Linked DNA regions of Homo sapiens: regions 2, 3, 4, 5 and 6 are each linked to region 1. Evidence: promoter capture Hi-C in 16 types of primary human blood cells and fetal thymus (Javierre and others, 2016). All regions are on one chromosome and are shown on one strand. Each heading gives the region's core, a stretch centred on a gene start or on the middle of the fragment in contact. The rest is flanking DNA. Distances are from core to core; before and after follow the strand shown. Region 1 holds the start of CXCL12 (C-X-C motif chemokine ligand 12). Region 2 overlaps TMEM72-AS1 (TMEM72 antisense RNA 1). Region 3 overlaps TMEM72-AS1 (TMEM72 antisense RNA 1). Region 4 overlaps TMEM72-AS1 (TMEM72 antisense RNA 1). Region 5 overlaps TMEM72-AS1 (TMEM72 antisense RNA 1). Region 6 has its middle 100 kb from the start of TMEM72.

Evidence for each region. Contacts are between HindIII fragments. The CHiCAGO score rates a contact against its expected background, and 5 or more counts as called.
Region 2: a contact is called between a fragment that was not itself captured here and the fragment with the promoter of CXCL12 in region 1, in 4 of 17 cell types (M1 macrophages, endothelial precursors, M0 macrophages and 1 more). The highest score is 7.9, in M1 macrophages.
Region 3: a contact is called between a fragment that was not itself captured here and the fragment with the promoter of CXCL12 in region 1, in 8 of 17 cell types (M0 macrophages, endothelial precursors, megakaryocytes and 5 more). The highest score is 13.5, in M0 macrophages.
Region 4: a contact is called between a fragment that was not itself captured here and the fragment with the promoter of CXCL12 in region 1, in 7 of 17 cell types (M0 macrophages, endothelial precursors, M1 macrophages and 4 more). The highest score is 11.8, in M0 macrophages.
Region 5: a fragment that was not itself captured here is called in contact with the fragment with the promoter of CXCL12 in region 1 in 3 of 17 cell types (endothelial precursors, M2 macrophages and M0 macrophages); the score reaches 6.6 in endothelial precursors.
Region 6: a contact is called between a fragment that was not itself captured here and the fragment with the promoter of CXCL12 in region 1, in 4 of 17 cell types (M0 macrophages, M2 macrophages, M1 macrophages and 1 more). The highest score is 10.1, in M0 macrophages.

Annotation. Positions count from the first base shown.
Region 1 is chr10:44,382,313-44,387,267 of GRCh38, forward strand. It overlaps CXCL12 (C-X-C motif chemokine ligand 12), which reads right to left and starts at 2,785. Exons shown (of 3, transcript NM_199168.4): 1 at 2,633-2,785. The coding sequence starts at 2,693. RefSeq lists enhancers at 341-1,034, 1,035-1,728, 1,729-2,420 and a silencer at 4,314-4,523. The HindIII fragment of the contact is 14,357 bases long and covers 1-4,955 here.
Region 2 is chr10:44,891,137-44,896,091 of GRCh38, forward strand. The region is part of intron 2 of TMEM72-AS1 (TMEM72 antisense RNA 1); the gene reads right to left. Among named protein-coding and RNA genes, the nearest start is that of TMEM72, 18 kb to the right of the region's middle. The HindIII fragment of the contact is 163 bases long and covers 2,051-2,213 here.
Region 3 is chr10:44,869,233-44,874,187 of GRCh38, forward strand. The region is part of intron 2 of TMEM72-AS1 (TMEM72 antisense RNA 1); the gene reads right to left. Among named protein-coding and RNA genes, the nearest start is that of TMEM72, 40 kb to the right of the region's middle. The HindIII fragment of the contact is 708 bases long and covers 2,082-2,789 here.
Region 4 is chr10:44,844,634-44,849,588 of GRCh38, forward strand. All of the region lies in intron 2 of TMEM72-AS1 (TMEM72 antisense RNA 1), which reads right to left. Among named protein-coding and RNA genes, the nearest start is that of TMEM72, 64 kb to the right of the region's middle. The HindIII fragment of the contact is 3,708 bases long and covers 123-3,830 here.
Region 5 is chr10:44,827,114-44,832,068 of GRCh38, forward strand. It overlaps TMEM72-AS1 (TMEM72 antisense RNA 1), which reads right to left. Exons shown (of 8, transcript NR_033842.1): 4 at 3,887-4,132. Among named protein-coding and RNA genes, the nearest start is that of TMEM72, 82 kb to the right of the region's middle. RefSeq lists an enhancer at 2,074-2,937. The HindIII fragment of the contact is 4,928 bases long and covers 1-4,602 here.
Region 6 is chr10:44,805,352-44,810,306 of GRCh38, forward strand. It overlaps the pseudogene EIF2AP4. Among named protein-coding and RNA genes, the nearest start is that of TMEM72, 100 kb to the right of the region's middle. RefSeq lists an enhancer at 3,980-4,642. The HindIII fragment of the contact is 784 bases long and covers 2,216-2,999 here.

The DNA.
Region 1 (4,955 bases), core at 1,535-4,034:
GATCACCTGGGAAAGCCACCCCCAGGGCCGGGGCCTGCAGCCTGGGTAACTGAGGAGCTAAACGCTCCTGAGTGTTGTGCCTCCAGGTTTCCCTGGATTTCTTTTGGGCCCTTCCAAGCTGAGGCAGGGGGTGGGTTGGGGGTGGAGCAGGAGAATAGGAGGCCGGTAGTGAGGCACAAGCCCCCTCCCGGCAACAGTGAGCTTGAAGATATGCAGCCAAGGGCAAGTGCTGCAGCCGCCCCCGCTGGGATGGGTGGGGCTGTGACTCTCCAGCGCCCAGAGGAGAGAAGCTCCTCTGGCCCCCCAACCAAGCAGTGGTGATGAGGCCAGAAATCAGAGCCTATTCAGAGCTCAACACACAGGCTCTCTCTCCTCTCCCCCTCCACCCCCTGGGATTATCCATTTCCTTCAAAAGCAATTCTTGCTTCTACTCCCAGGACCTAAGGCCCGCCTGTCAAGCAGCGAATTTCAACAGGTCTTTTTAAAGTGACAGAGCCCCCAGGTGTGCTTACCAAAAGAACATGGTCTCGTGTGTACCTCATGTGCTCCTTCCTCCAGCTTTTTGTCAGTAAGACTAACTTTCCCAACCGTTCTGGATGTAAATCCGTGTACCGGCAAGAGTCCTGACTGGCTCTGATGGTACCCCGGATTTGGGACCGGGTGAGCTTGGCTCCAGGAGTTTTCAGAAAGCCCTCCAGTCTAATGCAGAGACAGGAGCCCAGCTGGCCCCTCCAAGCAGGCTTGGGAAGGGGGCCCACCCTGAGTTTAAGCCCGGGAAACCCAAGGGCCCAGCTGCCTGACGGAAGTCAGCCAATGGGGGAGGGGCAGGACCCCTGGCCAAGCTCTCTCTGTAGTGCAGCTTGAGGACTAAGTGTGGGGATAGGGGGCACATAGGCACTGTGAGGTGAGGGGAAAACAAAACAAAACAAAACATTCTGGCGATGTGTGTAAGGAGCAGATCTGCCTGGAGCCCAGGCTCCTGCCCTGGTTACTTGGCTGCCAATGGGGCAACTCTGAGGGCCATGTCACCCTTCCCAGGCCAGGAGGAGTCTGGGATGAACCCCACGTCTCTGTGCTTCCCCCAGGTCAGTTGCACCCATAACTCAAAGACCGAGGTTCCTCATTCCAATCCTCTCTCCAGCCCTCCGGGGAGGGGGCAGCACCATTTCCCAGAGCGGCGCACTGTGACACCTCCGCGCTCATCCCACCAATCAGTCAATAACTGCCCAAACCAGAGACCTTACAGGAACAGAAGAATATCCAGCAATAAAAACTAGAAACATGCCCCATGACTTGCGGGGGGGGGGGGGGGTCAGTGTGCAGACACAGCCTCAGGGACTTTTCATCAACGACGAACATTCCCAATTGCCTTCAGTCTGTGTCCTTAACACTTAGGCAGTCCGCCACGACCCCAGGCTGCCCAGCTTCTCCAGCCCGACTCAGCTGCGCTGGTCCTGCTCACACCAGCGCACAGTCCAAGCCAGCTAGGACGCCGGGGCCACGTCTGCACCAACCCAGCCAAGGGCTCGAGGCGCGCTGGGCCTGCACAGCCCGCGGCTGCAAGAGCACTCAGAGTGTCCTTCAACTCTTTGCAGGAAACTTCACAGCCAAGGAAGCTCAGCGGCCTGAGCCACAGGGTTTTGTTTTGTGTGTTCAGAGGCAACAGTTTATTTTGGTTTGCATCGGTGTCCTGTGACAGCGCAGCGAGTTTCTCTTCAGCGAAAGAAAAGAAAAAAGCCCTCTCCCAGTGAAACGGGACACCACGGTTCCCAGTGGCCCAGGGCCTTGGAGATTGAACTTTGCTGCAGCTCTCATTCTGGGGCAAAGCGCTTGGCCAGCTGGTGACAAAAGAGCCTGTCTGCAGGTGTGTTTGGGGAGCTGGGGAGGGGGCGTGTGAGGCTCGGAGGGTCCCTGGGCCTCTCTCAGGTGAACCCGAGAAGAGACAGGAAGACAGCGGCTGGACGCGCGCCCAGGTCCGCGTCGCTGCGGACCGCGGAGCTGTGCAGAAGCGCGGCCTGGCGGGTGGCACAAGCCCGACAGCTGCGCCGCGCAGCCCGCCCGCGCCTGGCCAAGAGCCCCGCGAGGGTGTGGGGAGAGGATCGGCTTCGCAGGGAGCGGAGGCTGCGCGGCTGCATCGGACCTCACAGCCTCAAGTCGCGGCATGAGGCGAACTTTGCAAAGCGCGCTCTCGCCATGCACCGCCCGACCTCCAGCACTGTGCGCAGCAGGACCTCGGAGCCCATTCGCCTGTGGAAACCGAGCCCGCAGCGGGAAGGCAGTGGGTGGAGGGTGGGCAGGCAGGGGTCTGGGGTCCGCGGCTCCCCACCCTCGCGCCTTCCCGCGCCAGTCCCGAACGCTCTCTTGGGGCGTTCCTGCCCAGTTGTCCCGGCTGACCTCGCTCTGCAGCCAGCTTGAGGTCAGGCGGTCGCTCTCTGCAGGTCACAAACCCTCGGCGCAAAAGTAGGGCTTTGAACGCGACACCGCACCAGAGCGCCCAGCTAAGCGAGCTGCCTCCACCCCCACTGTGTCGGGCGGCGCAAACTGCGGGCGCAGGCAGAGGAGCCGCGGCTCTGCGCCGGGCGGGAGCCGAAGCCCAGAGCCTCGCCAGGGCCTCCCCGCCGAGCGCACTTACCGTCGCTGAGGCAGAGCGCGGTCAGCACGAGGACCAGCACGACCACGACCTTGGCGTTCATGGCGCGGGCGGGCGGGCGGGCGGGCGGACGAGCGCGGGTCGGGGGCCGGACGCCGAGCGGGCAATGCGGCTGACGGAGAGTGAAAGTGCGGCGGTGGGAGGCGCGCGCCGGGCGCTTTAGAGGGGAGAGCCAGGCGGGGCGGGGCGGGGCGCGCGGTGAGGGGCGGGCCCGGAGCCGAGTGCTGGCCGTGGCCGGGGTCTCTGACGCGCGACTCCCTCGGCGGCACCCCCCACCCATCCCCTTCGCCCCTCCTCCGCTCCCTCTGTGCTCCCGAGGCGCAGTGCGCTCCGGCCTTTGACCTTCTCAGGCTCCGCTGGGCCCCGCACCGCTGGCCCGGTCTGCAGTGAGGTCCGCAGCCTGAGCGACGCCGGCTGGAGGGCCGCTTATTGTCCCTGTGACAGGGCCCCACTGGAGAGACTGAGGACCTTAGGCGTAAAGTGGGGCGCGCGTGGAAAGCTGCGGGACGGGGCCTTTCGATGGCGGGAACTGAATGAGAACCAATGAAAAGCAAACAAGTTAGTCCCGGGCGGAGGGCCTGCTGGCGGTGGCGGCCCAAGGCAGCCGAGGGGGTCCTGCTTTCTGTGCGTGGGGGCTCAAGCTCGCCACCTGCCCGGCTTGCGGCGCAGCCGCCGGCAGAGCTCGATCTGCGGGAATGAGACCCGTCTTTGCAGTCAGCGTGGCTCGGACTCCAAGCCCACGGCGCCACCAGCCGAGCCTCAGTTTCCTCGCCTGTACAAACAAAGCAGAAGGCGCCGGCGGCTCTCAGTAAAAGCGAATGTAGCCTTTGTACTTCCGACCTCTCAATGGTGAAATGAGCTAATCACAGGCCCACCCCGCGGAGTGGGACGGGAGATTCAATGAGACCCGCCCCACGCCGCGAAATTCTCTGCATCGTGTCTGACAAGCAGACAGTACTCAATAAATGGTAGCTGTAAGTAAGTCCTTTAAACCTAAGTACTTACTGCCTTACCCAAGAAAAGCTCCGTGCGACCCAAAGAGCTGAGAACTCCCCCACCCCGACCTCCGACTCCTAGGACAGTACTACTGGCGTCTGCCTTCTGGGTCCAGAAAACTCTTCCCACGGAGCCGTCCCTCGGCGGTGCTTAGCCCTCCGGATACCCCCGAGACATCCCAGATGGCCCCAGTCCGGTGGCGAAGGGAGGGTGCAGGTCGGCACCCAGGAGACGTGGGGGTGAGGAGAGCGCCCCTTTGGGCCTCGCTTTGTGACCGCAGGCTGCCCCAGCCACCTCTCTGTGTCCTTCCCAGCACAGCGTCCAGCGAAGTGGGGTCAGTCGCCGCGTCCATCCAGGGGCCTGCCCTGGGGACACGTCCCTGTCCCTGGGGAGTCCTGGCCGTCGGGGAGTGGGCGGTCAGCGGCTGCATTAGGCGGGAGCGGTCAACAGGAGGCTGCGAGGGCTCCGGAACTCCGCTGGTGGGAGTAGGTGTCTTCTGTGCATTTTTTTTCCAAAACCACTTTGGCCGTTAGATGGCTGTGGGCCGGCACTCCATCCATCCATCCATCCATCCATCCACCCACCCACCCACCCACCCACCCACCCTGGGCACTGGGCTTGGAGCCGGGAACCCCACTGACTTGGCCCTGCTCTTAAAGAACTGAAGGCAGTGAGGTCCAGTGAAGAAGGCAGCCGTCGGGCGTCCCCAGGCCTTTGCTGGGCTGGGCCGGGGAGCCTGGCCGCTCACCGGCCGCAGCGCTGGGGCTCCGGCGCCCTCTGGTGGCGGCGCCTCCCTCCCCGCTCCCAGAGCTCTGGCCAGCTCCATTCCTGCGCAGCTGATGAAACCCGGGAGGGCGAAGGGGTCCGCGGGAAATCTACACCCGGGTGGAGGGGCGCCCTGGAGCTCGGAGATCCGACCCTGCGGGAGCCGCGCGCAGCCTCGCTTGCCCTTAAATCTGGCCAAAGCAAACGCCATCGCCTCTCGCTTCTTCTTCTTCTTTTTTTCTTTGCCACAAAATCAGGTGGGCAGCTGGACCTAGGATCTGTCCCAGAAGCCTGAAAGGCCCGCGTGGGCTGAGTCGAGGGCGAACCAGGGATTCAGGCCTGGCCGCTGCCCCTCCCGCAGGCGCCCTGAGGCCCCAGAACAGAAGCTACTGTGGCACCCATGGGGCCATCCCTTCCGCTAGTCGTTCGTTAAATACTTACTGAGCACCCACTATGTGCTAGACCTGGGCTACATGTTTGAAGTAGTTTAGAAAAGGCACTAAACGTTTAGAAGCACATGGCGCTAAGCATAAGTAATTACGCA
Region 2 (4,955 bases), core at 882-3,381, 510 kb after region 1:
CCAGGACTGGGGAAGCAGAATATGCCTCGGTGCAGAGGTGAGGAGACAGGAGAAGAGGCCACACCTGTGTGGGCACACCTGCCAGCACTGGGACAAGGTCTAAGTAGGGTGGAGTGGGAGGCTGGGAGGAGTTCAAGCTAAGAAAATGGGGTGACCCCAAGGCAGAGGCCTGTTGTCCAAGTGCAGCTGTTCAGAGGCCATTTTCCCTGGTTTGTGGTAGGAAGGGCCTTCATGTGTATGCGGTTCCTGCTCGCCCTCTAGGCAGCCTGAGGCATTGGAGAATACAGAGCCAGAGCAGGAGGACCAGGCAGTGTTCTGGGCCTGCTCCTTACTAGCTCTGGGGCCAGCCTCACACAAAGTGTGCCATTCACGTCTTCATTCAGTGCAAATATCTTATATGTGCCAGGCCCTGAGAACACTGGGGTGAGCGGCCCCACCAGGTCCCTGCCCTGACAGAATGCACACCCCAGTGTAGGGAGGCAGACAATGAACAGGAATGTGAATGAGAACACACAGGTATGTCCCTGTGACTTGTTTAGTCATCTATAAAATGGGACCAGCAACGTCACCAGCCCTACCCATGCAACAGGACTGTGGGACATCACAGATGGGACCTGCTGGAACTCAGGGGAAACATCATGAACTCACCCACAGCTGCCTTTGCTCTCCTTTTTTTCTTATAATAAAATGTACATAACATAAAATTTACAATTCTAACAATTTTTAAGTGGCATTGGGGACATCTACAATGTTGTGCAATCACACCATCATCCACCTCCGGAACTGTCTTATCTTCCCCAGCAGAAACTCTGTCCCAATTAAATGGTAACTCTGCATCCTCCCCTGCCACAGGTCCCTGCAGCCTCTATCTGACTTTCTGTCCCTAAGAATCTGCCTATTCTAGGTAGCTTCATATCAGTGTAAACACATCATACTACATTTGTCCTTTTGTGTATGACTTATTTGAGTGAACTTCACCTGGAAGTGGGATTGCTGGATCCCATGGTGATTCCATTTAGTGTTTAACTTATTATTTTTAATTTGTATGGATACATCAGGGTTGTACATATTTATGTGGTACATGTACTATTTTGATATATGCGTACAATGTGTAACGACCAAATTTGGGTAACTGGGATATCCATCACCCCAAACATTTGTGTTGGGAATGTTACAGATCTTCTCTGCTCGCTATTTTGAAATACATAATAGACTGTTGTGGGGTGGGGGCAGGGGGGAGGGATAGCATTAGGAGATATACCTAATGCTAAATGATGAGTTAATGGGTGCTGCACACCAACATGGCACATGTATACATATGTAACAAACCTGCACATTGTGCACATGTACCCTAAAACTTAAAGTATAATAATAAAAAAAGAAATACATAATAAATTATGGTTCACTAAAGTCACCCTACTGTGCTATGAAACACTAGAACTTATTCCTTCCACCTCTCTGTATCATTTTAACCATTGACCGATCCCTCTTCATCTCTCCTCCCTGCTACCTTCCACAGTCTCTGGTGTCTGTCATTCTACTCTTTACCTCCGTGAGATCAATGTTTTTAGCTCCCAAGTATGAGTGAGAATGTGCAATATTTGTGTTTCTGCATCAGGCTTATTTCACTTATGTGTTTGCCTTTTGAATAACTGTCATGCTGTTTTCCACAATGGATGTGCAATTTTCCATTCCCACCAGCAATGCACAGGGCTCCAGTTTCTAAACGTCCTCGCCCACTCTTGCCTTTCCCATTCTTCTGGTAGCAGCCATCCTAATGCATGTGGACTGGCCTTTTGCTCTATTCTATGCGTATTGTCAGATTGCATCCCACACGCATCCATCTCACGCCTATGTTGGTCTAAAGCGTTCATTTGTGGTGTGCTATTTCTGGACTATGCACTGTTTCTGTACTGTACACCAGCCTGTGTACCCTATACTTTAAGGGCAATGTAAGGCATTGCCAAAGTTAATCTCAACAAATTTGTAACTGTCTCTATGTTTCTTTCCTTAGAAACAGAGGTGACAGGAGCTACTAGCCTGTCTAGAAAGCTTGGTAATATGTCACTCTCAGACTAGGGATTCTGAGGGTCAGTCCCAGTGCTATCATACTGCCAATCTCTCTTGCCCCAATCTGCCTCTCCTGTGCACCCCAGAAGAGGAAGCACAAACCAGTGCCAGGGAGGACAGCAAGGCTCAGGGCAATGCACCCAAGCTTTGCTCTCATATTTATGGACCATTGTTCATTTTCAAAATAATTGGCATCAACATGAATGGGTAAAGAACAAGAGAAAATAACCCAGGGCCCTGTAATCTGTCCCTGGCCAGACTCGCCTGGTCCACATCCAATCCTCCACATACATTAACCTCAAATAATAAATAACCTAAGCCCTAGAGCAGGACACACTCACAGTATAATTCATATCTCAAAATCCAAGCAAGTGCCAAACAGCGGCCAACACTATGAATATAAATTCCAGCTTGTTCATATGCTGACATTCTAAAGTCTGACAAGAGTGAGCAAGAAGGTGTTTTTCCTAGCTAATGAGTTGAACTCCTTCAGATCTAGAATTTTTATAGAGGTGCGCTCTTGGGAACCTTGACAAGAGCTAAGAGCTTGGGAGAGGATGCCCATGTCCTTGCTAACGGATCATTTCCCTTGCTCAGCAAGTTTTCACCTCATTTTACAATCTCAGGGTGTCTGAGGTGGAAGGATGTTTGTGATGCTCATTGAACAGATGAGATCATCAAGGCCCAGAGGGTTGATCCGAGGTGAGCAGGCCCCACACCTGTCACTCCCAGGCCTGCAAGATATATTAAGGGCAGCACCTGCCATTCCTCAAATGGGAGAGTTTAATTTGAGGTCATTGACAAATCTGTTCAAAGAAACTGACATTTGAGTCCAAGCTGACTTACTTGGCAAAAAAAAAATATATATATATATATATGTATATGCACATATACATTTTTGTGTGTGTGCCAGTGTGGGGGCTGAGACATGACACCCCTTCCATAGAAATATGAAATATATCATTGTGCCGCGGAGGACCCAGAAGGAGGGGAGTCAGGAGGGACTGGAAACTGGGAGGCATGAGAAATGGCCCTGGAAGATGGCACCATGGCCAGCTCCCAGGAGCACACAGCCTCCTGCCTCAAGCATGGGCACCCCAAGCTCCTAGGACAAGAGAGAGGGAATGACCCCCAGGGAGGGCACACAGCCACCCTGAGCTGCTGCTCCACCTCTGATCCATGAGTCAAGTGTTCCTGTCACTCCAGGTCCCTCTCAGTGCCCTGGGCACCTAGACTAAAAGAGGCCCTGAGAGGATGAAGAGCTGAGTCCCATGGGCTCAGGTAGTGCCGGGGCTGTCACTTCGTGCAGACTGTGCCTCATGAGGAGCAGGGTCAGAGGGGCAAAAGTCCCCCACATCTGATGGGCTTGGGCTGGGATGCAGCAAGATCCCCCCCAGGCCCCCACTCTCCCTTTGACAGGACAAGTGGGAGAGCAGCTGGCATGGGGGCAATAAATATTTTGAGCACAGGTGCCAGCTGCTTAGGCAAGGACAGAACTTGGGACACCTTCCTGAAGGAGGCAGGGTTGGGCACAGCCCCTCAAGCTGGTGGTGAGGAGTCCCTGGCCCGAGTGCATTCCTTGCCCTAGAGAGAGATTATCCTGCCTGTTCTGCAGCAGCAAGAGAGGGCAGGCCCCAGGCAACAGGAAGGCCAGAGCAAGCCTAGTGTGGACAGGGCAGCAGTGAGGTAGAAACAGCCCCACCCCACCACTTCACAGTGACCACAGGCCCAGCACCTGCACATTCCATCTTCATTTAGCAGTGACCGCGGGCCCAGCGCTGTGCCCAGCACCCACATATTCCATCTTCATTCAGCAGTGACCATGGGCCCAGCACCATGCCCAGCACCCACATTCCATCTTCATTTAATAGTGACCATGGGCCCAGTGCCGTGCCCAACACCCACACATTCCATCTTCATTTAATAGAGACCGCGGGTCCAGCACCGTGCCCAGCACCAGTATATTCCATCTTCATTTAGCAGTGACCACGGGCCTAGCGCCATGCCCAGCACCCACACATTCCATCTTCATTTAGCAGTGATCACGGGCCCAGTGCTGTGCCCAGCACCCACATATTCCATCTTCATTTAGCAGTGACTGCGGACCCAGTACCCGCACATTCCGACTTCCTTTAGCAGATACTGGCAGGTGCCACTCCTGCTTTGCCTGCAGAGATGGTCCTTTGCTTTCCGGGCTCTAGGGACTACAGAGAGAACAAGAATGGTATGATGCTGCCTCATCTAGAAAGGGAACCCACTGTGTGTTCTGACATAGCAGTCCCCTCCCAAGGGAGCTGTGGCTGTCATTCATGTTTCAGGAACAATACCTCAAGTCAAACGGTGCCCAGGAGAAGGATGCACCTGCTGCATAGGCTTTAGTTTGCTGAAAGAAGCCAAGGCTGAGAGGGAATTAGCAACACTAGGAAGGAGAGAGGTTGGGGATGGTGGGGTTCCTTTCTGTAAGTAGCAGCAGCTTGGTCTCCCTCCTTGCAGAGAACTGAGAGAGGATAAAGACTGCTCTGTCAGGGTAATAAGCCTTCTAAAGCTAATGACTTAAATGCAGCTACTTATTATCTCCCAGTACTGCAGATTGGCAATTTGAGGCAGACTCAGCTACATGGTTCTTTGTGTGCTTCTGCTGCTGGGTGGGCAGGGGCTGACTGGTCTGGGGGGCGCCTTGCAGTTGGGCCCACAGTCTCCCTGCTCCTCCAGCCAGCTAGCCAGACTTGCTCCAGAGGCAACGGGGTGGGTTCAGGGAGAGAGAGAATGCAGGGCATGGAGGTCTTGCAGCCAGATGCAGGTCCAGAGCTGGCCCCTCATCACTCCACTATTGGCCAGAGCCAGACACAGTCCAGCCCAGATTCAGAGGGGAGAGAAGCTGCTGC
Region 3 (4,955 bases), core at 1,186-3,685, 490 kb after region 1:
GGTGATTTCATAGATGTAGACATATGTCGGAACTTAGATCGTGCACTTTAAACATGTGCAATTTATTCTGTGTTGTTTATACCTAAACAAAGCTGTAAACATTCATAAAGAAGGAAGACAGGAAGGAAGGAGGGAAAGAAGGAAGGAAGGAAGGGAGGGAGGGAGGGAGGGAGGAAGGGAGGGAGGGAGGGGAGACGGAGAGGCAGGGAGGAAGGAAAGGGAGGGACAGAGGAATTTACACCCTTGTGGAAGGAAGGAAGGAGGTAGAAAGGGAGGAAGGGAAGGAGAAAAGGATTCACTCCCTTTTGTCACGTGTTCAGACTCTCAGAAAATATCACTGAGCGTTTTCTCTACAGAAGCTTTCTCCACCTGTCCTTTGGGACACCGTGTGCCTGTAGTTTTCCTCATACTTTCCTGGATGGTCTTTCTCCTTCCCCCAACATTGCCCCAACCTCTCAACTGGCAGCGCCCTAAAACTCAGTCTTCTTTTCTCTAACTCGCCTCCTTTGGTGAGCTCACTGGATTTCATAGCTCTGAATCTCATCTCTACACTGACCACCCTCAAATGTCTCCCTGTAGCTCAGACCTCCTCCCTGAACCCTAGAGTCCTCTCTACCTCTTGGCATCGTTGCTTAAATATCTAGTAGAGATCTCAAACTTGGCATTTTCAAAATTCCCACAAACTATGCTTCCCACTGTCTCCCCATCTTAGTAATTCCCACTGCTCGAGTTAAAAATAGCACACACACAACAAAACCAAAAAAACACAGAATTACCCTTGGCCCCTCTCTTTTTCTCGTTCCCCACTTTCAAATCCTTTGACAAATTTGTCAAGCACATCTTCAAAATTTACCCAAAATCCAACCACTTCTCACCACCTATATAGCTACAGACCCAGCTCAAGCCGGAGTGATTTAGTGTCTGGTCCGATCCCCGCCGCCTTCACCCCTGCCCGTCACTGGCCCTCAATAGAGCAGCTAGAATCTCTCTCACACACCAACTCTTCCAGCTTTTTTTTTTTCCTCTTTTTACAACATTGGCCAGAACCTCAAACACTGTGCCAAACGGAAACAGTTAGAATGGATGTCTTAGTCCATTTGGGCTGCTATAAAAAATACCCTAAATTGGGTGGCTTATAAACAACAGAAATTTATTGTTCACAGTTCTGGAGGCTGGGAATTCCAACATCAAGACACTAAAATATTTGGTGTCTAGTGAGGGCATGCTTTCTGCACACAGTCTCACTGTGTCCTCATACAGTAGAAGGGATGAGGGGGTCTCAGGCCCTAACCCCATTCCTGAGGATTCTGCCCCCATGACCTAATCATCTTCCAAAGGCCGCACCTTTTAATACCATTATCTTGAAATTTTCAATATATGAATTTGGGGAGGCCTCAGACATTCAGACCATAGCATTGGACATCCTTATTTTGTTTGTAATTTCAAAGGAAATGGGTCTTATGTTTCTCCATTAAATATTAGGTTTGTGGTAGGTTTTTTTGAATATAACTTTTGCCAAGTTAGGGAAATTTCCTCCTGTTCCTAGTTTTCTATGCTTTTTTAATCATAAAAGTTGTTGAATTTCATAAAGTACTATTTCTGTATTAATTTTAATTGCCATGTAATTTTTCTTCAGTAGTCTTTTAATATGGCAATATTTTTAACAAAAGATTTTATGACAATTTTTCCAATGATGAGTCACTCTTGTATTCCTAGGTGGCATCCTACTTAATTATAATATATTCTTAACAAAAGATTTGATTCACTTAGCCAAGATTTAGTTTTTCCTTCAATGTTGATATACTAATCAATTGAAGTCTTCTTCTCTTTGTATTTATTGTTCTTATCTGATACTTGAGTTATGAATTACATTAGACTCATAAAATGAGCTACACAACTTTCTCTTCCCATCTTACGGAACCACTTATAAAGATTAGCAATTAACTGTTCCTGAAAATTTAGTAAGATTCATCTATAACCCATCCGGGCTTGGGGATTTGAGGAGGGGAAATCTTTGAATACCACCTTACTTTTCTTAGTAGTTATTAGTTTGTATAACTTTTCTAATATCTTCATCATTAAGCTTTGCCTCTTAGTCTTCCAAAACTGTTTCTATTGAATTCAGTTTTTCAAGTTCATTAAAATATAATTGAATGCACTGTGAGTGTTCAAGTAACAGGAAAATGCTGATCCTTTTAGCTATGTTCACACATTAATCTGGGCTTACTTGAATAGGCCACTCTTCCTCTCAGTTGAAACAGAAAATCGTGTTGTTTGATAACATTGTTTCCCTACATCATTCATGTCCCTAGAATTATGTAGGACAAATAACATTTCCAATAGATTGTGTACCCCACATCCCCCCTTAAAAGTCTATATTGTTTTAATAGAAATTCCCAGAGCCCATGGCTTGCCTGGCTTCTTTCTATGATGAAATGTGGGTGCATCCTTGACAGCCTTCATCATAGCCTTAGTACTGCTCATCACCAAGGGCTGCTGCTATGGCTCCCACATTCTTGGGATGCATCCCTCCCCAGTCAGTGCCTACTGCATTGCTCAAATAATAATGTTGCTATATTGATTACAATTAAACATGTTATCTCTACTGTGTTACAGTAAATCACAGATTCACCAGAGAGAACAGTTACCTAGGACTCCCAGTTAACAGTAATATCTTTCTGGCATACCTCCAGTTTGGGGAATGGCAAGCTGAAACCATAATAACTATTATTCACCGAGCGCCTACAATAAGCCTGACATAAATTGGCACCTGAGATGTGCTACCTAGAAGCTTTATTAAAACCACAGAAGGAAAGCCTTAGTACCTTTGGTTCATTTCTTTTTCTTTTAAAGACAGGGTCTCATTCTGTTGCCCAGGCTGGAGTGCAGTGGTGCAATCATAGCTCCCTGCAGCCTCAACCTCCTGGGCTAAAGCGATCCTCCCACCTCAGCCTCCTGGGTAGCTGGGACCACAGGTGTATGCCACCATGCCCAACATTTTTTTGTATTTTTTGTAGAGATAGGGGTTTCACCATCTTGCCCAGGCTGGTCTTGAACTCCTGGCCTCAAGCCATCTTTCCACCTCAACCTCCCAAAGCATTGGGGTTGCAGGCATGAGCTACCACTCCCGGCTTGCTTCATTGATGAAGAAAATATTGATCACATGGGTTAAGTGACTTGCCTGAGGCCACTTAGAGAGTAAGTTAGAGCAGGGATTCAAATTCGGATCCATCCATTTTTTAACTTCCCACTGAAATCTAGATATTTTTCAATAAAGAATTTTCTAAAGAATAGCCTAAAATCAAATGGTTTCTGCCAAATCAGGTATACCTACAAATTTTTCGGCCCCCAGTTACCATCTTAAGTCCTGGACAGCTATTAAGTGGCATGCCTATGCTGGCTCCTGCCTATTGAAAGCAGTTGTCTGGAGTCTTGCACTGAGAAGGATTGTGCAGCTGAGCTTGGGCTAAATGAGAAATTGCTGAGATTGGATTCTAATGCTGTTTGTATTTATCAGAGTTCTCCAGAAAAACAGAGCCATACGGTATATGTATACATACATATATATATATATATATATATATATATATATATATATATATATATATGAGAAGAGATTAGGAATTGGCTCACACAATCATGGGGGCTGGCAATTTTCAAAGTAAGCTGGCAGGCTGGAAAAGCTGGCAGGAGTTGATGTTGCAGTCTTGAGTTCCAGGACAGTCTGGAGGCAGAATTCCTTCCTCCCCATGGGACCTCGGTCATTTCTCTTAATGCCTTCAGCTGATTAGATGAGGCCTACCCAAATGATGAAGGGTAATCTGCTTCTCTCAAAGTCTACTGATTTAAATGTTTAAAAAATACCTTCACAGCAACTTCTAGACTAGTGTTTGACCAATCAACTGGGCAGCATATCCTAGCCACATTGACACATAAAATTTACCATCACACTATCAAGATCAGGAAGACAATATTCCGTAACAGTGGGTCTCAGACTTCAGCATGAATAGGAAGCCCCTGACGGGCTTGTTAAAGCATGGATTGCTGGGTCCCAGCCCCAGAGCTTCTGATCCAGTAGAGCAGGGCTGTCCCTGTGAGAGTTTCCTGAGATGCCGATGGTGCTGGCCCAAGGCCACACTTTGAAAACGCCCCTGAATGGCGTCATTGCTACATTGCTGAAGTGATTACGCTGAAGCATCATGAACAATCATCATACAATATGTTTCTAATCTACAGTTTCTATATAATAAAAACAATTTGAAAATTTTCTGAATGTCTAAGTTTTCAACAAGAAAAACTTTACTTTTAACCCAGGAAAATATCCACCCAGTCCTTAGCTTCTCATAAGATTATAATAAAAAATTGTCTCAGAATATTATAATAAAAAGTTGTAATCACATACCTTCAATCAATATTCCAAAGTAACAGAGACATGTCACTCACAGAATTAGGAGTTGGGCCACTTGGGTTGGACAAGGTCAGGTCACAATTCTCAATTTGTACAGCTGATCAGAGCCAGATCTCCTGATTCCTGGTGCGTCTCTCCCTCAGGCCTCGGTTTCCACGTCCATAAAATGGGATAGTTTGCTTGTGCTCCCTCCAGACCTGATAATTCTTCTACCCAGGGTTCACATATCTTGACTCAGTTTGAAGCAGAACATTCAGACAGGTAGTACTGTCAGAGAGGAAATGGTCTGCCCTGTAAGGCAGGACTGTGGGTGCGAGAATCTGCGCTGGAGGGCACCAGGTGGAAATTTCATAGGGAAGATTCAGATTGCAGATTGGACACTTCATTCCTCTCACACTGTGAACTTCTACAGGTCCCTGAATTACAGACCCCATTCCTGGGACAAAGCTTAAAAGAAAGAAACAAACTTTAAAGAAATATAGGAAGGTGCCTTTGTTACTATAATGATTATGGATATCTGTTGTAAAAATAATACTTATTGAGCCCA
Region 4 (4,955 bases), core at 727-3,226, 460 kb after region 1:
TTCAGTGAATCCATGGACTCCATGACATCACTCAGGGAACATTTGGAGTCCCCATAGCCTGTCAGTCTCAGCCAGAGACAAAAATCCAAAATTCTACTCAGCTAGCCAGTGGATGCAACCAAAGCTTCAAGCTCCAGATATCAGAGCTTCTACATTCTGTGGATCTAAAGCCTTGATCACCACCCTAGGACTTGAGCAGCCCCTGGAGTTAACGTCAGTGTTCTTTCCTCAGGAGCCATCTTTCATCTGCCTGGAGACCTGCTTCCATGCAGAGTAGGACAGCTCTCCATTTGGAGATGACTCCATCGAGCTTTGTAATTTCCATAACAGGAAATTAGACCAAAGACAATGAAGGCCTTAATGGGTAGGCTGCCCCCACTGTGTCCGGAGTCACTGAGAACTAGGCATGGCAGGTGTTAGCATGCCCCTACCAGATGGAAGGGTGCTGTCCTGTGGTGATAATGTTAGGCCCCCATGCCCCAGTGCCCAACCAAGCCAGCGCCTTGCTCCTGGTCATCACCACCAAATAGATCCAGTCGCTAAGACTGGGTTTCTGCTCTGTCTCTAATTTTCTATTCTAGTTAACTAGAATAGAAATAGAATAGGCTGTAACCCTATTCTTCTGGCCTGTCCCCGCCTCCTTTTCTCCAAGGGCTGAAACCTAATTCCTTTATCTCCCAGCTACTGACAAGATGTTATCACTCACCTGACTTTGGGTTTTGCCAATTCTCAAAGATTCAAAGAGGCCATAAGATAGAAACTCTTGTGATTTTTCTTCAAACAACCAGACCCACAAAAAAAAGGCAGAAAGAGAAAAAAGAATCTTGAATTAGACTCATCTTGGATAACCCTGGACAACAGGGATATTTAATTCAATTCAACTCAACAAAAACATCTCAAGTTTCCATGTGTGTCTGGCATTTTTTCAGCTTTTGGAATAGTAGAGATTAATACAACACAGCTCTTGCCTGCCCCAAGTGTGTTGCTAATTGGGAAAACATACATATAAACATAACTCCTTAATTTAATATAGCACATAATGTGGCTGGAGGGTTTCATAAAATATGAATTTTTGTTTCATCAAGAGTAGTGTATGGGTCCCACAGAGGAGGACAAAGGGAAAGCAGGGGAGAAAGGACTGGGCAAGAGCCAAAAGAGGGAGAAAGAGAGTCCCCAGCACTAAAAAGGACACATTAGATGGGGTTGTGTGAGCAGCAGGCACCTGCACTGCTCCGGGGGGTGGCAGGACCTCCGAGGGAGCTCCCTGGGGGTTGGCTGCAGGGAGACTGCCCGCAGGTCCCAGCAAAGAGCCCCACACGCAAGCCTCGGATGGGATCCTGGCACTGTCTGCTTACCAGGAGCCAGGCCAGACAAAGGGGAACCAAGGTGTGGAGCACTGGACAAGGAGTGAACCAAAGGTGGCCAGTTCGGCCATGAATAGAGTCCTCCCAGATGCCCTCCTCAAACTAAGTTCCCCTTCATAGACTTTTGGGATGAGTGGAACAAACCCCAGTTGTAGAGATGAGGGAGATTTCTGCCAGCCCTGGCAGAAGTGGGGCAGAGAACTGATTATAATCGATTGCATAAAAATAAAGCTCTATGACTATTGTGCGTGTGTGTGTGTGTGTGTGTGTGTGTGAAGTTTTTTTTTTTTTTTTTTGAGACAGTCTTGCTCTGTTGCCCAGGCTGGAGTGCGTTGGCACGATCTTGGCTCACCTCCCAAATTTTCCCACCTCTGCCTCCTGGGTTCAAGCAATTATCCTGCCTCAGCCTCCCGAGTAGCTGGGACTACAGGCATGCACCACCACACCCAGCTAATTTTTGTATTTTTAGTAGAGATGGGGTTTCACCATGTTGGCCAGGCTGGTCTCGAACTCCTGACCTCAGGTGATCCACTTGCCTCAGCCTCCCAAAGTGCTGGGATTACAGGTGTGAGCCACCACGCCTGGCTGTGAAGATTTAAAACCACTCTACAGTGATAAGCACAGGGTATAGAAGAAATATGGTGGAGGGCACCAGACCCAGATGTGGACTCCTATGAAATCTGCATGGAGAAGCTGATGGGAAGACTGAGTCTTGAAGCATGAGTTAGAGAGAATCTGGTAAGGAAGGGGCATAGAGGGAGATCCAAGTGAGATGACGTGTGTGGGGGTGGGGGAGACTGAAGGGAAATCTCAACAGAGGGCCCCCCCCCAACGGATCTGCCTCTGGATCCACCTCCACAATGCTCTTAGGTTTGGCACACTGCTGCTTCCTACCTTCTATTTGCAAGCAGCCCGTGATACCTGGCAACATGTTTGCATGGCCCACTCTGACCCTCTGTCTCTTGCTCAGGAAATACCCTAGAACCACAACCATAAGAGCATCTCATTTACTTTGCAGCTAATTTAGGATTCATAATCTTTCATCAATATTAGGATGATAGAACATTTGAACTGAAGATTTAACAACTTTGTTCAAAATTGTTCTTTTGCAGATGGCGAAATTTATTTAAGACCAGAAATGAGAAATAACCTGTCACTTGTCATGCATCCAGAAAGGGGTGGAGTTGAAATCTGCATCCATGTCTCCTGATGGCTAATCCTTTGCTGGAGGGTCAGCAGCTGCTTTGTAGAACTGCAAGGGGCAATATTCAGCTTGTGTTCTATGAGGTTGGCTCCCCAGGTGCCCCTCAGAGTTGTGTGATGCCAAGCCCTGAGGCCATGCTGCACTGCCTCCAACAAAGGGCAGCCGACACTGGCCAGATGCTCACAGCTTCACCAGCTTCACAGCTTCACCTGGGCATCAGCTTCTCTGCAGTGTCCATGCCCAACACATTGGGAGTTAGCAATGGTGTGAAGAAATGGCAGGAAATTGTACCAGGCGTTCCCACCTTCGGGCATGAAAGGGCCCAGTGTCAGGGAAAAGCATAGTGCCTTCTTCTGCCACAGAAATGAGCTAGGCAGGGAGAGGAATCAGAGATGACTCTGTTTCCCTTCTTGTTCTATCAACCACCTCCCAAATTATCCCACCTCCAATTCTCTGCCACTGCCATCAAGAAGCCAAAAGACAAGCATTTGAAGGAGATGTCCCAGGACGTAAGTGGAGGGCAGAAAATGTGCTCTTGTCACTGGAGCAGCAGAGGCCAAGGAGATCCTTTAACTCCCCTCACCCTGGACACCAGCCTCCAGCCCCAGGTGGCATGCATCCTGAGGGTGCAGTGGTGGGCTGAAGAACTGTCTTTAAAAACGCACTTTTCCTAGGAAGGGGGAACTTGAGAAGCTCAGAGCATTGGAAAGTAATGAAAGCCTTCTTGATGGAGAAGCTAATAAAAAGGAGAGACCCACGGACAGCATGGAGGGGGCCAGGCCCAGAGCCCAGGCAGGCAAGAGCTTTCCAGCCAAGGGTGACTCCCAACTGGCTGGAGAAGGGAACTTTGTGACAACTGGCTTGTGTTTGGGCTAGAGCCACTCGGAGGAGTCTTCAAAGAAAAGTAAAAAGTGGGAGAGCCAGCCGACTGGAGATTTCTGGAAATGGGACTTTCAGATACTCCCCAATTCAGATTTTTATGTACTGGACTAGTTTTACGCTAAAGTTACTCAAAACAACAACAAAAAAGACAGAGAGGGAGAGAGAGGGAGAAGTTAGACTATCCTGCCCCTTCTTAGATGGTTACAATTTCCTGTTCTAACCTAGTGTGCAGGTTCAACTGGGAGGTGAGTGAACTTTAGGGAGCAGGACTGGCAGAGCAGGGCTCCACGAAGCCAGGGCCTCACAGCACTGCCACACGCCATGGCCCGGGCCTGTGGCCTCCTTAGAGGTGGAAGGGGCTTGGAAGGCGGTAGTATCAAAGCTTGTACACAAGGATTATTTGACACTTCTTCTGTCCAAAAGTGGAGTCTACTCCCCCTCTCAACTATGGGCCAGTCTTAGTGACTTGCTCCTAACTAATAGAATGCATCACAAGTAGTTTGCAAGACTAGATCATAAAAGGTGATAGATGATGCACTTTCCATATGATGTTCTCCCGCCTCCCCTCCCTCTCCCTCTCACTCTCTCCATCAAGATCTCTCCCTCTCTATGGGGATGCTGGCACTGGGAACCCAGCCACCATCTTGTGAGGAAGCCAGATCACCCCTTGAAAAAGCCACACAGCCACACATAGGCATGAGGGAGACTTCAGATGACTGCAGCCCCAGCCCGTGACTGGGAGCTGCCCCAGATGGTGCCAAGTGGGACAGAGATGAGCCGCCTCTACCTGCATTGCAGATTCCCAAGCAAATTAAATGTTGTTATTGATCTCAGCTACCATGTTTTGGGGGAATGTTTTATTACATATTAGTCAATGACCTTACTAGAAAGCTTCTTGCTCAAGCTTTTTCTTGGTATTTGGAAACTGAGACCTCAGAGCTCAGGAAGAACAACACACAGTGAAGGCTGCTCTGAGGTGAGGTCGAGCTGCTGCTTAGACTCCAGCTTTTGGCCTCCCTTTTGGCCAACCTAGTGGTTGATTTTGAGTGTTAACTGGACTGGATTAAGGGATGCCCAGATAGCTGGTAAAGCATTATTTATTTTCAGTTGCTGCATTAATTATTCTCAATGCTTCAGTAGGCAGTTTAACATTTGATGAAAGTAACTGGGTTGCCCCAGGTGTGTCTGTGAGTTTATTTATAGAGGAGATTGGTGTGTGAGTCAGTGGACCCAGTGGGAAAGAACCACCCTCAATGTGGGTGGGCACCATCAAATCAGCTGGGGGCCCAGACGGAACAAAAGGTGGAGGAAAGGGAATTCCTTGCTCATTCACTCTCTGCTGAAGTTGGGACACCCTTTTTCTCCTGCCTTGGACATCTTAACTCCAGTTTCTCCAGGCTTTGGACTCCGGGACTCACCCCAACTGCCCCTACACCCTGACTCTATGTTCTCAAGCCTCTGGCCTCAAGCTGAGCCATCAACTCCTCAGGTTTTGAGGCTTTGAG
Region 5 (4,955 bases), core at 889-3,388, 440 kb after region 1:
GAGTTTCTGTTGTTTAAGCCACCCAGTCCGTGGTACTTTGCTATGGCAGCCCAAGCAGACTAATACAGTGAGGAGAAAAAATAAATTAATAAATAAATAAATAGCAAAACAAAACACAGCCACTTCCTCTATTGGAATAGCCAAGATTTTTCTTTTTACATACTATATGTTAGAAAGAGAGAGAGTAAAAATGTAAAGAAAAGTGTTGGCTTTTTTATTTTAACTAGTGCTTAGCAAGTTTAAAACAATATAAATGGTGAAGGCCATCACACACGCATCCCTTCATTTGACACTTCAGGTCACGGCATCTGTCTGAACCTCCATGGCTCATCCCATTCAACAAATGTTTGACTGAGCAAATATTTGACGGCAGGTCTTGCGGAACATATGTGTGACAGGGAAGGACTGACAGGGTGATGCCACAGAGATGAGCAGCAGGGACCCAGCTCAGCACTCTCCCTTCCGGGCAGAGCTGTGTCCTCCCGCGAGTGCGTCGGGGCAGAAGCCACAGAGTCCACGTGGGGTCCCTCTAGAGTCTGCACCTGTGAAAACAACTGCACCTCCCTCATCCTCCATGTGCGTGCCTGACAGGGCCTGGCTCTCTGGCCAGGGGCCAGGGGGAGCTGCCCAGAGACGGCCCTTCAACACAAGAGCAGCAGGAGTCAAGCAGGAAACCCGGAGAGCCACTCCCTGAGGAGGAGCAGCCCCAAGGGATTGTGGGGGGCCAGTGTCAGCTTGGCCTCAGACATCCCAGCACGGGTGCAGAGGAGCACAGCACTGTAGTCCCCCCAGCTCAGTCGCTGTCCCTGCTGCCTGACCCAGCTGCCCAGCCTCTTTGTCACTGGTCACATGATTCTTTCACAAAACAAGTAGAACAAGGCATGGTTGTATGAATTTCTAGCTCCCTACCCTCCAGCCTGGGTAGGTCAGGGCACCTGTCTGAACCTCCATTGCTCATCCCATTCAACAAATGTTTGAGCAATCATTTGATGGCAGGTCTTGCGGAAGATATGGCTTATAGAACACGAAGCACATGTTTCTTTTGCAATTGCAGCACATCTTACATGTATGTAAAAAGTAGCTCAATTAAACAGATGAGTGTTAATATTCAAAGATGAGGAAACACATTCTCTACATTGCTGATGGTGTTTATGTCTGCAAAGGGAATTCGGATTGGGAGGATGGATGGAAATTAGAGCTTGGAATCCACAATCAGACCAACACAGGCCTTTGGCGGCTGGGAAGAGGGTCGGGTGCCCTGATCTTCAGGGCCTCCAGCGCTGGGTTCGGGGTTCCTGACCAGGATCCTGAAGCTCCACCAGCTCGACAGCCTTGCAGAAAACAACAAGGGGGGCTCGGGCCTCTGTAAATATCTGTTCTTTTTCTGCTCACAGTCTCCACAGGAGGGGATGGGGCTGCATTTAGCTGCTAAAGCCTCTTCCTCTGTAAGTAGGATATTAAGGGATGGAGTCCAGCTAGATAAATAAACCAAGTCCCTGAGGCGAGACCCTTGCTGCCCCCGTAGACCGGAGAAAGTTCCCATAGTCGGACTCCGAGCCAGCAGCTGAAGGGCCTCCTCATGTTTCAGGATTCGGGAGAGGAGGGGCCACGAGGGATCAGCTGTGGATCACATCCCAAACGCCGCTCCTCTCTGGGCTAACACCGCTGGGCCTGGGGATCCTCGTGTGCGGAGGAGGACGAAAGTGTGCCGGCAGCTGGCTGGATCCTGGAAAATGCAGAGGGGAGGGGAGGGCCTGTGGGGACCCTAAAGGCCCCAAGGAGAGGCTGCGGGAAGGCCAAAGGCTGGCGCTCTTATTCCCAGGCATGCCAAGCCCCTGGCTCACACAGGCCTGTGGGGCTCAGTAAAGGACACAACACAACCCTTCTCTGGGCTCCTGGCTGTCTGGCGGGGGAAAAGAGTTGGAAAAAGAAGGCCCATATATCTTAAAATGATAAAAAGTGATGGCCACATACATTGTCAGATGCCTATGTCATTGTCACTTAAGGCATTATGGGGACAGATGGCAAGACAAGCACCATGCAATAATGAGTTCCAACCTGAGTTCTCCTGCTCTGCTAAGGGGTCCTGCGCGCTGGGTAGAGGCCAGGGAGACAGTGTTGATCCACAGACCTGGGAGGAAGAAGTCACCAGGCTCTGTGAGGATCAGCAGAAACCAAGCAGACATCCCACTGCACTGCCCAGGAACCTGGTGGGCATCACACATTTGGAAATACTTTTAGGGAAAGGGGGCAGAAGACAAAGGGGAGCAGTAAAGCAAGTAAGAGTGTCTGTCCAAAAGTCACCAAGAGCAGCTTACAAATCCTGTTCACAGGCGCTCTTGCCTAGACGCCCCTTCCCGGGTCCCAGCGCTTCAGCGCAGCCAGTGTCTTTCCTGTCTTTCCACTCTGAGTCCTCAGGCCAGGCCAGCTCCATGTCCGGGTGCCTTAGCACAGCCTTTGCCCCCAGCCGTGGGGTTGGGAGGCTTCACACCACTCGCTCCAGCCTGCTCCGGGTGTGAAGGCAGCACCTACATGCAGTCCTAACCCTCACCCTGCCTGGAGCACAGAGCCCCAGGTGAATGCTGGCTGGAAGGATTAGTACACTCATCATGTAGGACAAGAATACTATCCCCATTTTTGGACAAATAAACTGAGGTTTTGATTTTTTTGTGTATGTAATTATAAGAGTAAACTGGGAGTAGTTCCAGAGCTGCTTATTCTAAATCTCTCACACACTACCTTCTCAAAGTTAAGTGGAGGCACTGCCTTGATTGTTTCAGCAGGCCCACTCGAAAGTTGCCGGTGAAGGGATGTTCTGGTACTGAATTGAAAGGGAGACAACAAAAGGAGCCAGTGGCCAGTGAGAACACCTCAGAGGGTGTCCACACACCAGCCCCCCTGCTCTCTCCACCACAGGAGCGTTTAGCATTTGCAAATGTGAGTGGAGAGCCTCAAGATTTCGCCGAACTTGGAAAGCATCAGAGAAGAACTACTAATATCTCCATTCACTATGTGCTAAGCACCCTTTGATACACATTGCAGGGTTAAAAAGGTAAACCAAAGCACAGTAAAATTTTTAAAGAGTTTGAGCAAACAGGGATTCATGAATTAGGCAGCTCCAAAGAGGAAGTGGTTTGTGAGTTCCATCAAAGGAATGCAAGAAGGAGATTTCTATAATACAAACAGGGAAGTCAAACAAAAGAAAATATTTAATTGATTATGGATATGCAATTGGCTTATTGAGTCTATCCCACTGAAAAAACCTCTAGTTACATACAAGCATACCTTGGAGACATTGCGGGTTCAGTGACAAACTACTGTCTGCAAATACTGCAAATATCACAATCAAGTGTGTCACATGTTTTTTGTTTCCCACTGAATACCAGTTATGTTTATAGTATACTATAGTCTATGAAGTGTACAATAGCATTATGTCTAAAAAAGCAGTGCACATACCCTAATTCAAAAATACTTCATTGCTGAGAAATACTAATGATTATCCGAGCCTTCGGAGACTTGTAATCTTTTTCTGGTGGAGGGTCTAGGCTTGATGTTGACATGTTGACGGCTGTTGATTAATCAGGGCAGTGGTTGCTGAAGGTTGGGGTGGCCATGGCAATTTCATAAAATAAGACAACAATGAGGTTTACTACATCCATTGACTCTTTCATGAAAGATTTCCCTGTAGCATGTGATGCTGTTTGATAGTATTTTACCCACATTAGAACATCTTTCAAAATTGGAGTCAATCCCCTCAAGCACTCCCACTACTTTATTGTAATCTACATTTATATAAAATTATTCATCCTTTGTTGTCATTTCACAATGTTCACAGCACTTTCACCTGAAATAGATCCCATCTCAAGAAAGCACTTTCTTTACTCACCTGTAAGAAGCAACTCCTCATCTGTTCAAGTTTTATCATGAGATTGCAGCAATTCAGTTTAATCTTCAGGCTCCACTTCTGATTCTATTTCTTTTGCTGTTTCCACCATATCTGTAGGTGCATTCTCCACTGAAGCCTTGAATCTCTCATAGTCATCCACAAGGGTTGAAATCAACTTCTTTCAAACTCCTGTTTATGTTGATATTTTGATCTCCTCTCATGAATCATGAATGTTCTTAATGGCATCTAGAATGGTAAATTATTTCCAGAAGATTTTTAATTTACTTTACCCAGATCCATCAGAGGAATCACTATCTATAGGAACAATAGTCTTACAAAATTTGTTCCTTAAATAATAAGACTTGAAAGTCAAAATTACTCCTTGATTCATGGGCTGCAGAATGGATGTTGTGTTAGCAGGCATGAAACATTAATCTCTTTGTATATGTCCATCTTGGGTGACCAGGTGCATTGGCAATGAGCAGTAATGTTTTGAAAATAATCTTTTTTCTGAGCACTAGGTTTCACTTATGTGTTTAAAATATTCAGTAAACCATGCTGTAAACAGATGTGCCATCATCAAGGCTTTGTTTTTTCAGAAAGAGGAAATTTAGCATAATTCTTAAGGGCTCTAAGTTTTTTTGGAATAATAAACGAGCATTGGTTTCAACTTCAAGTCGCCAGCTGCATTAGCCCCTAACAAGCCTGTCATTTGAAGCTTTGAAGCTTTGAAGCTTTAAAGCTAGACATTGACTTCTCTCTACGTACAAAAGTCCTAGATGGTATCTTCTTTCGACAGAGGACTGTTTTATCTACACTGAAAATCTGTTGTTTAGTGTAACCACCTTCATCAATGATCTTAGCTAGATCTTCTGGAGAACTTACTGCAGCTCCTCCATCAGCTCTTGCTGCTTTACCTTGTACTTTTATGTTATGGAGACAGCATCTCTCCTTTAACCTCATGAACCAACCTCTGCTAGCTTCCAACTTTTCTTCTGCAACTTTCTCACCTCTCTCATCCTCTATAGAACTGAAGAGTTAGGGCCTTGCTGTGGATTAGGCTTTGGCT
Region 6 (4,955 bases), core at 1,358-3,857, 420 kb after region 1:
CACGCCTAGGGCACCTAGGGGACAATGCAGAGCTCCCAGGTCGGAGGGGCCTGTGCTCACCAGAGGGGGACTGGCTGGGGATCCAGCAGGGGAAAGGTGCTCAGCCTGAGACTGGGAAGCAGGAGTGACAGGTGTGTGGGGAATGGCAGGCGTGGGAAGCTACTGTAGGTGCCATGAGTGGTGTTCTAGGGCCTTGAACAGGGAGATGGATGGAATTACTTCTTGGAGGATCATGCTGCTGTTATGCAGTGAATAAAGTGAGAAAGGGAAAGCAAGCAGAGAGAGCACTGCAGAGGCCATGGAGGAGGGGAGGTGGGGAGGAAGTATCGCTGTGACACAGCCATGGCAGTAAGAGCAGCCATGCATGGTGGAGTATGAGGTGTGTTTGGATCTGACTGTGAACTCTTTGTGGACAGGGAGTGATAGAGATTTGAGCCAATTGCTTAGGTTATTGGATTGAGCAAGTAAAGGATGGTGGTGACCCTTTCTGAGATGAGGATATCAGAAGAATCAGGCTGTAAGGCAGGGAAGGAGGGATGTCAGTCCCTGCCCTGCCAGAGCGCAGGTTCTGTGGACGACACAGTTGTGGAATGTGAGTCAGGTGCCAGATGGCCTTGGTGCTGAGTGTGAACTGATAGGAGCCTATGAAGGGACCACAGTTTATTTCCTTCCTCCCGCTCTGGTTCATTTGGACCCCACTGAAGACTGGGGAGGTTTCTGCAGCCAACATCAATAAAGTGGTGACAGAGAGCACCAATTGCAATCCAAAATCCTACTGCTGAGGATTCATCACGAGCTTATTCATATGGCCAAAGAGAAACTGCAAGAGCAAAGGCTGTGTGCCTGGAGAATTCACACATTTCCCATTACTTTCCAGCAGGGAGTGGAGGACACATATACAGACCTCCCCTAAGTTAGTCAAGTAAGAGACCCAGCAGCAGTATAACAGTTCATGACAAGAAGGGGGATTGGAAAGAAAGGTAACTGTTTTCCAGGAGAAGGTGGGGCTGTCCATGCCACTCCTGGAAGATGTGGCTACAGACTCAGAGATAATGATGCTTCTAGTTCCCACAGTCAGTATATGAACCCAGCTGAGGATCAGAAGGACTCTGTGTGGTGAATGCACCACCATGTTTTGCAGAAAGCATAGTGTTTCCAAGGAAATCTCAGGAAAATTACAAAATCTGTAACTTTAGCAACAGTTGGAGCTTCATTTGCTGGGGCAAAGGAAAAAAATTATAAATATTATCAGTGTCACTAACATGAGTTTACTACACCTCTTCCACCTCCAAAGGCACTTTTTTCTGAATTCTTACCAAAAACCCATGTCCTGGTAATACAGCAGCCTTACACTTCCCTACACATGGCACTCCTGGGAGACTCAACCTGCAACTCCATCGTGTGAGAGTGGGATGTGCTTGAAGTCTTTCATCAAGGAAAAAATGTAAATTGGTATCCATCTGGTCAGATGATGAAACTGTTTTGTGTCCAAAATGTTAACAATAAAGTTCACTTCTTTGTAAACGATGATTTTATAAAATTGCAAGTAAATTGTCTTTGCAGAAAATTAATTGTGGGTTATCACTTGGACTCCAGTCACACAAGGGGGCTGTCTATGTTTCAGGGAGTGAGGGTGTACTTTCATTTGTTGTATTATACTCATACCCCAACTTTTTTGGACCTCATGCAGCTTTAGCCAACAGCAGTTTCTCTAAGCCGATGAGGTTACAACGCTGTGGAATGAAAAAGCCACTGCTGGCTTGTAATAGCGAGAACAGATGTTGACAAGAGAAGAACTTCCTGCTATGGGGAACAAAGGCTGCATTGCACTGCAACAAATGGAGAAAGTGCTGTCATTTGTTCAATTACTAAAACATAGCCCCATTTATGATATAATTTGGAATTCTGGTTCTACTGAGTTTTATGCTATTTATGGTTTTATGCCTGCCAAAGCTATGATTTTCAACTTGAAATGTGATCTTGTGTTTGACCTTGGAACTGGTGCTCTAAGGCAGCCTATTCGGTCCTTGTGGCCATATATTAATACTAACTGGATTTGGAAATCTGAGGAACAAACGTGAGTGTGGGATATTAAAAGCTACAAACTTATTTCCAAACAAGTATCCTCTGATCATACATATTTTGCTAGGTACCTAGATGGGAGCACCTTTTACTATCACACATGCTCCCAGGTTGTGTGTTAATAATGGATACAAGCTTTGACATTATACCAGCCCTATCCTGCATGAGTAAGATGTGTCACCAAATGTAGAAATATGGCAGGCTTCTTGGCAGACATTTCTGGATGAACTATTTCCAGCAAAAGCAGTAACTTATCAAGCAGTTCCAAGTGAAGTACCCAACTAGGAACCTAAATTTGCAATGACTGATAGACTCCCAGCTTTAAGAAATAAAACAATCACCAATTCTAAGCTGTATGAAGAGAAATCACCCCAGAATAAGAAATCCCAACCAGGAAATGATAAACCATTAACAAAAGCAGCCCTGAAAAATCAAAGGAAATATAAAGCTAAGAAAGCTACAAAGCAGGAAGTAAGAAGTGACAAGAGTCCAGATTTGACACCTACCCCTGTCCCCCAGAGCACACCCTGAAATACAGTGTCTCAGTTAACATCTGGAAACCCTGAGATAGATGAAAAATTCAAGAACCTAAAAAGCCAAAAGCAACTGACTCTCAGTTAACATCTGGAAATCCTGAGATAGACGAAAAATTCAAGAACCTAAAAAGCCAAAAGCAGCTGAACCTTGAAAGAACACAGCAACTGAAACACAGCTAGAAAAACAGTGAGTTAGAAAAATAAAAGATAGTTCCCTTCTCCAAGAGCTGGAAGATTTGAAAATGGTTACTTAAAGATTCACAGAGAGCAGATTTATTAGTATAAATCCATAGAAACACATCTGGGTTAAATCCAGGAGAGCACCCTGAATATCCATGTACCCACACTTAATGCTCAAACATTATATTAACCATTTACCTAAGCTTTTGCACATTTGGGAAATTATGTATTAATGACCACTAAGTTAACATCTTTCAATGCAAGTTATAGAAAAGACACATACAAATTTCTTAGGTAAGTTTGATAGACTAAAAGAGGAATATCAATGACATTCAGTAGAGACCAGTATTTACCATATAAATGAATATGGGTATTTTAAACTAAAACAAATAAATGTAACTCACTAGACTGTAATCCAAAAGAAGTCGATGAAAACAAGGCGAACAAAAGTTTGTTTCTGTAACTTTAGAATGAATATATGTTTCTTTCTCTTCAATCTATATTCACTCACTGATATGCTTTGGATGTTCATCGCTTCCAAATCTCATGTCGAAATGTGATCCCCAGTGTTGGAGGTGGGGCCTAATGGAAGGTGTTTGGATCATGGGGGTAGATCCCTCATTAATGGCTTGGTGCTGTTCTCATGATAGTGAGTGAGTTCTCACAAGACCGGGTTGTTTCCACCGTGAGTGGAAGCTTCTGAGGCCTCAACAGAAGCAGATGTCAGCACTGCACTTCTTGTACTATCTTCAGAATCATAAGCCAATTAAAAGTGTGTGGCATGTCCCCCTGCCCTCTTGCTCCCACTGTCACCATGTGACATGCATGCTCCCCCATTCACCTTCCACCATGATTGTAAGCTTCCTGAGGCCCTCACCAAAAGCAGATGCCAGCACCACACTTCCTGTACTCTCTGTAGAACTATGAGCCAATTAAACTTCTTCTTTTCTTTATAAATTGCCCAGCCTCAGGTATTTCTTTACAGCAATGCAAAAATGGCCTAATACAGAAAATTGGTACTGGGGAGTAGGGCACTGCTATAAAGATACCTGAAAATGTGGAAGCAACTTTAGAACTAGATAACTGACAGAGGTGGGAAGAGTTTGGAGGGCTCAGAGGAAGACAAGAAGATAAGGGAAAGTTTGGAACTTCTTGGAGACTAATTAAATGGTTGTGACCAAAATAGTGATAGAAATATGGATAGTGAAGGCTAGGCTGATAAGGTATCAGATGGAAATGAGGAATTTATTGGGAACTGGAGCAAAGGTCACCCATGTTACACTCTCCCAAATAATTTGGTGGTATTGTATTCATGTCCTAAGGATCTAGGGAAGCCCGATCTTAAGAGTGATGACTTGGGGTATTTGGCAGAAGAAATTTCTAAGCAACAAAGTGTTCAAGAAGTGACCTGGCTGCTTCCAACAACCTATAATCAGATAAGGGAGCAAAGGAATGACTTAAAGTTGGAATTTATATTTAAGAGGGAAGCAGAGCATAAAAGTTTAGAAAATTTGCAGCCTGGCCATGTAGCAGAGAATTTAACCAGGCTGCAGAGAAACCACTTGCTAGAGAGATTAGCATGACTACAACAGAGCCAAGTGCTAATATCCAAGACAATGGGGAAAAGACCTCAAAGGCATTTCAGAGATCTTGAAAGCAGTACTCCCCATTATAGGCCCAGAAGCCTAGGAGGAAAACAATGGTTTCAGGAGCCAGACCTGGGACACCACTGCCCTCCACAGGCTTGGGATGCTGCTCCCTGCATCCTGCCTGCTCCAGCTCCAGCTGCAGCTCAAAAGTCCCCAGGTATAGCTCAGGCCACCACTCCAGAGGCTGCAATCCATATGCCTTGGTGGCTTATGTGGTGTTAAACCTGAAGGTGCACATAATGCAAGAATGAAGGAGGCTTGACAACTTCTACCTAGATATTAAAGGCTATATGAGAAAGCCTGGGTGCCCAGTTAGAGGCCTGCTGCAGGGGCAGAGCCCCCACAGAGAACCTCTACTAGGGCAATGCTGAAGGGAAATGTGGGGTTGGAGTCCACATGCCAAGTCCCCACTGGGGCACTGCCTAGTGATGAGCTTCAGATGAGACTTAGTACTTTTAGCTTGATGCTGGAATGAGTTAAGACAGAAGAGTTGGCAGCGGGGGGATCG